Linked DNA regions of Homo sapiens: region 2 is linked to region 1. Evidence: promoter capture Hi-C in human tissues and cell types (Jung and others, 2019). All regions are on one chromosome and are shown on one strand. The core of a region is centred on a gene start or on the middle of the fragment in contact, and the rest is flanking DNA. Distances in the headings are between cores, read along the strand shown.

What was found. Contacts are between HindIII fragments. The study calls those that stand out against the background at their distance.
Region 2: a fragment that was not itself captured here is called in contact with the fragment with the promoter of DEFB128 in region 1 in 3 of the 25 tissues and cell types used here (heart right ventricle, mesendoderm cells and thymus).

Annotation. Positions count from the first base shown.
Region 1 is chr20:187,968-191,989 of GRCh38, forward strand. It overlaps DEFB128 (defensin beta 128), which reads right to left and starts at 1,744. Exons shown (of 2, transcript NM_001037732.3): 1 at 1,608-1,744; 2 at 1-151. The coding sequence starts at 1,656. The HindIII fragment of the contact is 16,618 bases long and covers 1-3,375 here.
Region 2 is chr20:238,765-242,786 of GRCh38, forward strand. No RefSeq gene overlaps it. Among named protein-coding and RNA genes, the nearest start is that of DEFB129, 14 kb to the left of the region's middle. The HindIII fragment of the contact is 4,422 bases long and covers 1-3,886 here.

The DNA.
Region 1 (4,022 bases), core at 494-2,993:
TTCTTAAATGACACATGTTTTTTCTCTTCTTCATCATTAGCACAACATAATTTCCCACTTAGACATCCTATTTCATATCTTTCTCCTACCTTGCATTTCTTCCTGCAATAGCCTGTTACTTTATTGAAGCATTTTTTGAGTCTTGCCCCGTCTGTGCATAGGAAACAACATTGAACCAAGGTTAGTGCGTAAGGAAGAGCAGAAGAGGTAGGTATGTGGTTCCCCACAAGTCATGGCCTCCTATGGTCCCAAGTGAACATTATGCTGATAAAAGGAAACTCAGAGGCCCCTCCTTGAAAAATATCCCAAATTAAGGACATTCAAAAGCCCAGGCTCTCAGCCAATGTCCAGTTGCCTCTGAGAACATTAGAACTGATATGACAAAAGAGAAGAGAGAACTCAATTCCTGGTTATCAACCAGAGCCAAGTCCCACCCCTAGGACCATGGCAAAGCTGACTCTCTCCACCAAGCTCCAAAGTCAGCACTCTCTCAGCTCCATCTCAGTCTCATGTCCCCAGAGACGGCTAACATGTCACCATGTGCACAAGACATGTCACCATTGGCACAACTCAGCCAAAGCAACTTTTGAAAGAACATCACAAACAAGACTTTTTAACTTAATTCGGTTTCACACTCACTGATATGGGCAACAGAAATCTCCCTTTGACAAGATCTCATGGGTCTCAGCAACAGGTGCTATTGAGAACTCCTTCCCTTAACCTGGCTCCTCCTGTCTGTCACTCATCACACTCCCCTTGATCTCAGATAAATGTGTTGCCCAGGGATCAAATTCAATTCCATGAATTTGGCTCTAGAGAGCTACATTGTCACCTTCTCAGAGTAATGCACTGAAATTCTAAGTCTCTTGTTTCTAATCCTTATTTGCCCCTCTACCCAAAATTTGAACAAGCCCAAAGAATAAGGTTGGAGAAGAGAGACATACTCTCCCTATCCTAAACTTCAGAATCAGGGAACATCTTTGAGGGTTAGAGGAGTATATTTTGGGGCCATAAAAATACAATATGCCTTCTTCCTAGCAAGAGAGAAGGTAACTCTCACTGACAGGGCTTCTACGATGAACTTTGTGCTTCGTGCTTGTAAGTTCATGTAACCTGTACATCAAATAGAATCATGAAATATAGTAATTATACTCCTTCACAGATGAGAAAATTGAGATTAAAAGGAAATAATGTGCTTAATTCATACAACCCGTCAATGATGAAGACATATTTTAACCTCACATTGACATGACTCCAAAATGTGTGCTATTTTAATTACTGTTGTAGTACAGGCTGAAAATGAATTTGAATGGAAAAGGGAATGGCCAGGCTCTCAGGTGAAAACTGTGTCCAGCATTATAAAGATAATTCTAGATGATGAGTTCATGGATACTTTTGAAAAGGACTCCTGAGAGTCCACTATAGCCCTGACCTCCTCTTACCTCCTTGGGTGCCTCTCTTCTAAGGCATAGACTCAAGTCAGGCAACCAGGAGAATGGGTACTTTTTTATGATTTTGGCCAAATATAAATAATCTTGAAAGTCCTGTTCCCACTCTTACAAATAGTAATATCTCTTAGGATGTTATAGTACATTTGGACAAGTTACCTGTGAGTACCTCAAACAGCAGAATAATGAGAACCAGAAACAGCTTCATATTTACAGACTTCCCAAGAGAAAGAGGCAGCAGAACTTTGTCCAGTGGTCTGTGTGCCACAGGTCTTTAAAGATGATCCAGAGTTTTGAGAGCTATCAGCGCTCGGAGCTCTCATTTTAACCCACACAGACAGAGAGGAATTCCAAGTCCACCCCCGTAACACACACACCTACATCCCCAAATATGGAGCTCACAGTCCCAGAATGTTCCACCATATCATCCCTCCTCCCCCTTCCTCAGGATATGCGCCCCTAGAGAGCAGGAACTATGACTTTCCGTCTGAGCTTCCAACCCATTTGGGTCAAGGTTGGTTGGTCGTGGGCCTTGGGTTGTGTGGGATAATCCTGTCTTATTCCTATTGTTCCAATGTTCCATCCGGCTACTGCTGCCTCTAACAAAACTAACCCAGTTTGGAAGATAAATTAAGTCATTAGTCGACACAGAAGCATATTCAACAATAATTTTTTTAATGTATAAAGCTTCCAGATAGTCATTCTAGGAGTAAGATTGCTTTTAGGTTTGGCTAGATAAATTGATATTATTTGAGAGTTTCCCATAAAGACTTGTCCATCTAGTAGAGCAAAATTCAACAACTGAAAGTTTTCAAAAGATCAAATCTCCTTAGCACAGCACTCAACTTATTATAAACTGGTCTCTGCTCTCCTCTCTTGGGACATTTTATGGAACCATCTATGTTTCTCCCAAACTAGTGGGTACACCTTCCTGAACTTTTACTTCCTTAATCTGTTTCTTTTCACATTTAAATCCCTCCTTACAGATTATATTACACTCCCCATCCCCTCCATATAATTGGTGCTAGTGAACTCCTGGTTTTCCTTCAAAACCAAGTTCAATCATCTCTATATAAGTGAAAGTTTCCCTGACCCAACTAAACAGAGCTGCAAACTCTCTTCTTCGCACCATCACTGTATTTGTACATATTTTTGTTGATGGTCACACTATGTCATGTTCCAATTATTTGTTTATCTGCAATAGTCTGCAGACCCATAAAGGGCAGGTCTCTGGTCTTATTAGACTTGGAGTTCTTTTTCTTTTTTTTTTTTTTTTTGCAGTTGCAAGATTTAATAGAGTGAAAATGGAGCTCCCATACAAAGGGAGGGGACCCAAAGAGGTTAGCCGTTGCCGGCTCGAATGCCTGGGTTTATATCCCAATCATTGTCCCTCCTGCTGTGCTCTCAGGCAATAGATGATTGGCTATTTCTTTACCTCCTGTTTTTGCCTAATTACCATTTTAGTGAGCTCTCTTTCCTACCTGATTGGTCACATGTGAGCTAAGTTGCAAGCCCCGTGTTTAAAGGTGGATGCGGTCACCTTCCCAGCTAGGCTTAGGGATTCTTAGTCGGCCTAGGAAATCCAGCTAGCCCTGTCTCTCAGTACCCCCTCTCAACAGGAAAACCCAAGTGCTGTTGGGGAGGTTGGCCGACGACCGCTCTAACTGCTTCCTCCTGAATTGGGGCATAGTAGGGGTTGTGCAGTTGAGATTTCCTCAGGAGGGGTGCCTTCGATGTCATTAACATTGGAGCATGGGCTAGCAGGCCGGTCCAATGGTCCACGGTAGCTCTTAGTCATGGACGGCATCTGTGGCTCCATTTGAAGAATGATTTGTAGTTTTACAGCTTTGATTCTGGAAAAGACAAACTTAACAAGGAGGTTAAAGATACAGGGATTGAAATGTATGGCCTGCAGTGCAGGGGATTATTTCTTTGGCACACTTTACAGGCCCTGACTATCTATTTGATAGTTTTGAAAAGGCCTGGTCCAGTAAATAATAATTTAGCCATCTGATAGTTGCTATCAATGCCTAAGTGAAAGGTTTGGTAAAGGGTTTTAAGTAATTTCAATTGGTTAGCTGCAGGCAAAAGTATTTTTTCTTCTTTGGTGGCTAGCCATCCTGAGGGGAGGAAAGTATGTCCTCTTGAGGTTCTCCATTCTATTTCTTCTGCTGAGTACTGGGGCTTGGTTTCCTGGAGGGGGTTACCCCACACTAGGGGTCCTTCTATAAGCATTTCTAATGGAGGGTCCTGTCTTGTGGCTCTTTTGGCTTCAACATCTGCTTGGCAGTTCCCTTCTACTTCCCTTTCCTTTTTTTTTTTTTTTTTTATGACCCCGGCAGTGTAAGACTGCCACCTCTTTAGGTTTCTGTACAGCCAATAATAATATCCTAATGGCTTCTTGATGTTTGATAGGTGTTCCCTTGGAAGTTAGGAATTCCCTTTCTCTCCATATTGCTGCATGGGCATGGAGAACTAGGTAAGCATACTTAGAGCCTGTATATATATTTACCCTTTTTCCTTCTCCTAATTCTAGTGCCCTAGTGAGGGCTATTAGTTCTGCCAGCTGAACAC
Region 2 (4,022 bases), core at 426-2,925, 51 kb after region 1:
TGGGAGGCGGAGGTTGCAGTGAGCTGAGATCACACCACTGCACTCTAGCCTGGGTGACAGAGCTAGACTCCATCTCAAAAGAAAAAAAAAAAGAAAAAGCACACGACTAGTTATCATAGATACTGTTGGCTACTGTTTCCTCTCTGTTGTGTGGGTCTGAGCAAAGAGAGGGAATGGGATGCACCGTGCTTTCAGCTCTCTATAGTCTCTTCTGGATTTCAGTGTTTCAGCACAGCCCTAAAAACTACCACATGATTATGCCCCACGTAACAGTCAGATCACCTTGTCTCTAGAGAGACCACGCATCCATAACGAAGAACCTCTTATAACCATGGGTTCCACATCTTTACGGCTTAATCACTGATGCTCTCAGTGAACCTGAAAATTGATCCTGCTGAACAAGATCAATAAACAGAGTTTTGATTCAAAGGCAGCCCAATGAGTTAATAAGTGCTCCATGACAATGCCAAAGAGGATTAAGGAAAGAATAGCAACCTGGAGGAAGATGTATAGAAAAGCAGACCAGGTGCGGTGGCATGCGCCTGTAGTCCCAGCTACCCAGGAGGCTGAGGCAGGTGAATCATTTGAACCTGGGAGGTGGAAGTTACAGTGAGCCGAGATCACGCCACTGCACTCCAGCCTGGGAGACAAAACGAGACTCTGTCAAAAACAACAACAAAAAAAAACCAATATTAATAATGCAAATATTTGAGTTACAGGGCATTTTTAAGAGCCAGATACAGTACTGGGAACCTTGAGTATATTATCTCATTTAGTCCTTAAAACAACCCCATAGACTTTATATAAATAATACAACTGAAAGTTTAACTTAAGTTGCTGAAGTTCACAGATAAGCAGTAGAATCAGGATTGGAACCCATGTCTCATCATATCAGAGACCCTACGCTTAAGTGCTATGCTTCCTTGACTCTCACTGGCAACAGCTTTGGTGCATGTACCTAATGCCAGTTATATCATAAAGGATCTACATGGATAAGCTTATTTCATACTCTTAGAAATGGTTTGGAAGAGGCCAGGCGTGGCGGCTCACACCTGTAATCCCAGCACTTTGGGAGGCCTAGGCAGGCAGATCACGAGGTCAGGAGATCGAGACCATCCTGGCTAACATGGTGAAACCCCATCTCTACTAAAAATACAAAAAATTAGCCAGGCATGGTGGCATGCACCTGTAATCCCAGCTACTCAGGAGGCTGAGGCAGGAGAATTGCTTGAACCTGAGAAGCAGAGGTTGCAGTGAGCCAAGATCACGCCACTGCACTCCAGCCTGGGTGACAGAGTGAGACTTCGTCTCAAAAAAAAAAAAAAAAGTTTGGAAGAAGCTATAGAAGTCTCGATATTACTGGTGACCCAGTATAAGGAGGAGTGGTGAATATCCCTATTCTAAAGGATTTCCTAATCCTGAAGGATTTGGACAGCTCCTGCAATTGCCAAATGTAAGCGGCCTGAAAAGTTCACACTTAGATTATTGCCTTTATTTTTGGCTCCCACACTGTAAAAGAAATTAGAATTAGAGCACAGATACAAAAGCTATGATAATGAAAGTCCTAAAAAAAATTCCATTAAGAAACACACACATATAAGTCAGAAATTCATTGGGAATACCTTTGCATTTTAAGAGATGAGAAGGAAAGAGTTAACAGTAGTCCTGAAATCAATTCTCTCCCTTTAACAGGAGATACTTCTGGCAGGAAAGAAAAAAAAAAAAAAAAAACTTGACTCTGACTCTGTCAGATCTCCTTATAACATGCTAATAAGAGACCTTCTGGTAAATATGCTAATGATATTCACTAGCAGAGGGGTCTTTATGTAGCAGAATGCATCTGCTCAGTCCTCAATTGCTTCTGGTAAACAAACTTAGAGTCTATGAATTTACAGGGCATGGCTCCTTGAAAAATGTCATGTGTTTGTAATGCTAAGTAATTGCCAGAGAATAAAATGGAGATGTTTCTAGCTAAAATAGCCCCTTTGGGTAGCTGATGGGCACCCATGCATCACAGACATCACTTAGAGATCTTTCATGTTAAACCTATCCCATGGCTTATTTTCATGAGGCAAGAAAGGACCTGGGAAGTGGTGTGGACATCCCAGACTTTTGCATTTTTACCTGCTTCGTAATTACCCGTATCCTTGAAATTATTACTAAAGCTTAATGCTGGGAAAGATCTCTGATTCCCCTGATTCTGATTTGGCAAGCCAATCAATCTTTTGTATTAATCAGGAAAGAAAGCCAATATTTCTATATGAATATACTCATCTCAAAACTTTTCAGAAAAGATATTTTCCATACATGGAAATAGCTTAATTAACTTTTTCTGATTATGAGGTTACTTATAGTCATTTTGAACACTCAGACAAAACAGAAAACTTTATGGAAGATAAAATAAGAATAACAAAATCTTTCCCAAAGAGAAAGACCATTAAATTTTTGTATATATCCTTCCAGAGAATACACAAATTATATGTATATATATTTTACATGTATACATATATAACAAAGACTAGCTTATACTACCCACGCTTTCCTGTCATTTTTCTTTTCTACCTAAGATATCACTGACAGTCTTTTATATAATAAGGATAGTCCTCAATTATCATCATTGTTTAAATGGAATTCTAATGTGTTAAGTGCCATAAATTAGCAGATTCTCTATTGATAGACATTTAGCTTACTTTTCACATTCTCACTATGAGTAATGCTAAGAAGGCAATATAGTTCTTGCACCTTCATGAACATATTCTTTTATGCTATGTGCATTATTTTGGGTCAAAGGGCAAGCAGAGTTTCATTTAATTTTGTTTTAGACATGGGCTATATATTGACAAATTGCCCTCCCAGGAACAGTACACAGTTTTTCTTATGTTGCCTCACCCATGCCAGCAGTAGCTAGAAAATGCATTTCCAAAGACTGGTGCTAATTTTCTGTGCATTCTGTGAGTGCTCAGTCAATTTAAGCAATAACCACTTAGAGTAACAAAATCTATTCACCCTAATAGCAGAGATTTCTACTTCATCCCTGGCTCACTGCCCAACTTTTGATCTCATCTAAGGCCAATAAATGTAGCTCCAGACAAGTGACACAGGTAGCTCTGTCCCCATCCAATCTACCCAGCTACTTCTCTTAAGGCACGTTCTGATCCTTCAAGCATGAAGTTCTTGCCTCTGGCTTTTGTTTCTCTCTTGTTTCTGGCTTCAGTGACCTTGAGTACCCTGGAATCTTCCATATTGAGAAAGAAATGATAGAGGGGAGGGGACATGGAAAAAAGAATTAAATATATCTATTTTTAAAAAGAAAGAAAATTTTAGAATGGACATGTCTAGAAGGAGGAGGAAACAGAGGAGGGGGACAGGTATAAAAACTGGACTTCTCTGAATATACTCTGCTTTGAAGGTTTGACTTTGGAATCATCTACATATTTTATCTAATACAAGAATATCGAAACTTAAATGGCAATCCCAAAAATCTAAAAGGAATAGAAATCAAATTAGCCTCTGTAATAAATGGGTTGTATAACCACACAAAGGACTATTTGAAATGACTTTCAAAGAGTAATTTGAGAATACTTCCTTATTGGAATATAACCTAAAAACAGAAGAATTGCAAACTGTTTTCAATGTTTTCAGTAATCATATTGAGACTTTAATACATATATTGTGGGATAAAGGAAATGAATGTTGGTGTCACTGATAGAGATAAGAAATAAAAGTTCAGGTAAAAATTCTGTAAATCCTAAATTTGAATTGGAATTTTATATTTTATTTTTAAAATACCTTTTTCTACCCCCATCCACTGAAAAGCCCTAGAAATATTGGCCAACCTAGTAGAAATGATTTCCCTCTCACCCGGGATATTATCTCTAAATATAATTTACCAAAGTCTTATTGAAGAAATTGCTGTTTCTGAGCTTGAAGCAACTATACAAATGTACCTGGAAGATTTTACCATACTGGAAAAAAGCAGCTTGACAAAGACTACTGAAGTCATGTCAAAAAAAACAAAGAAG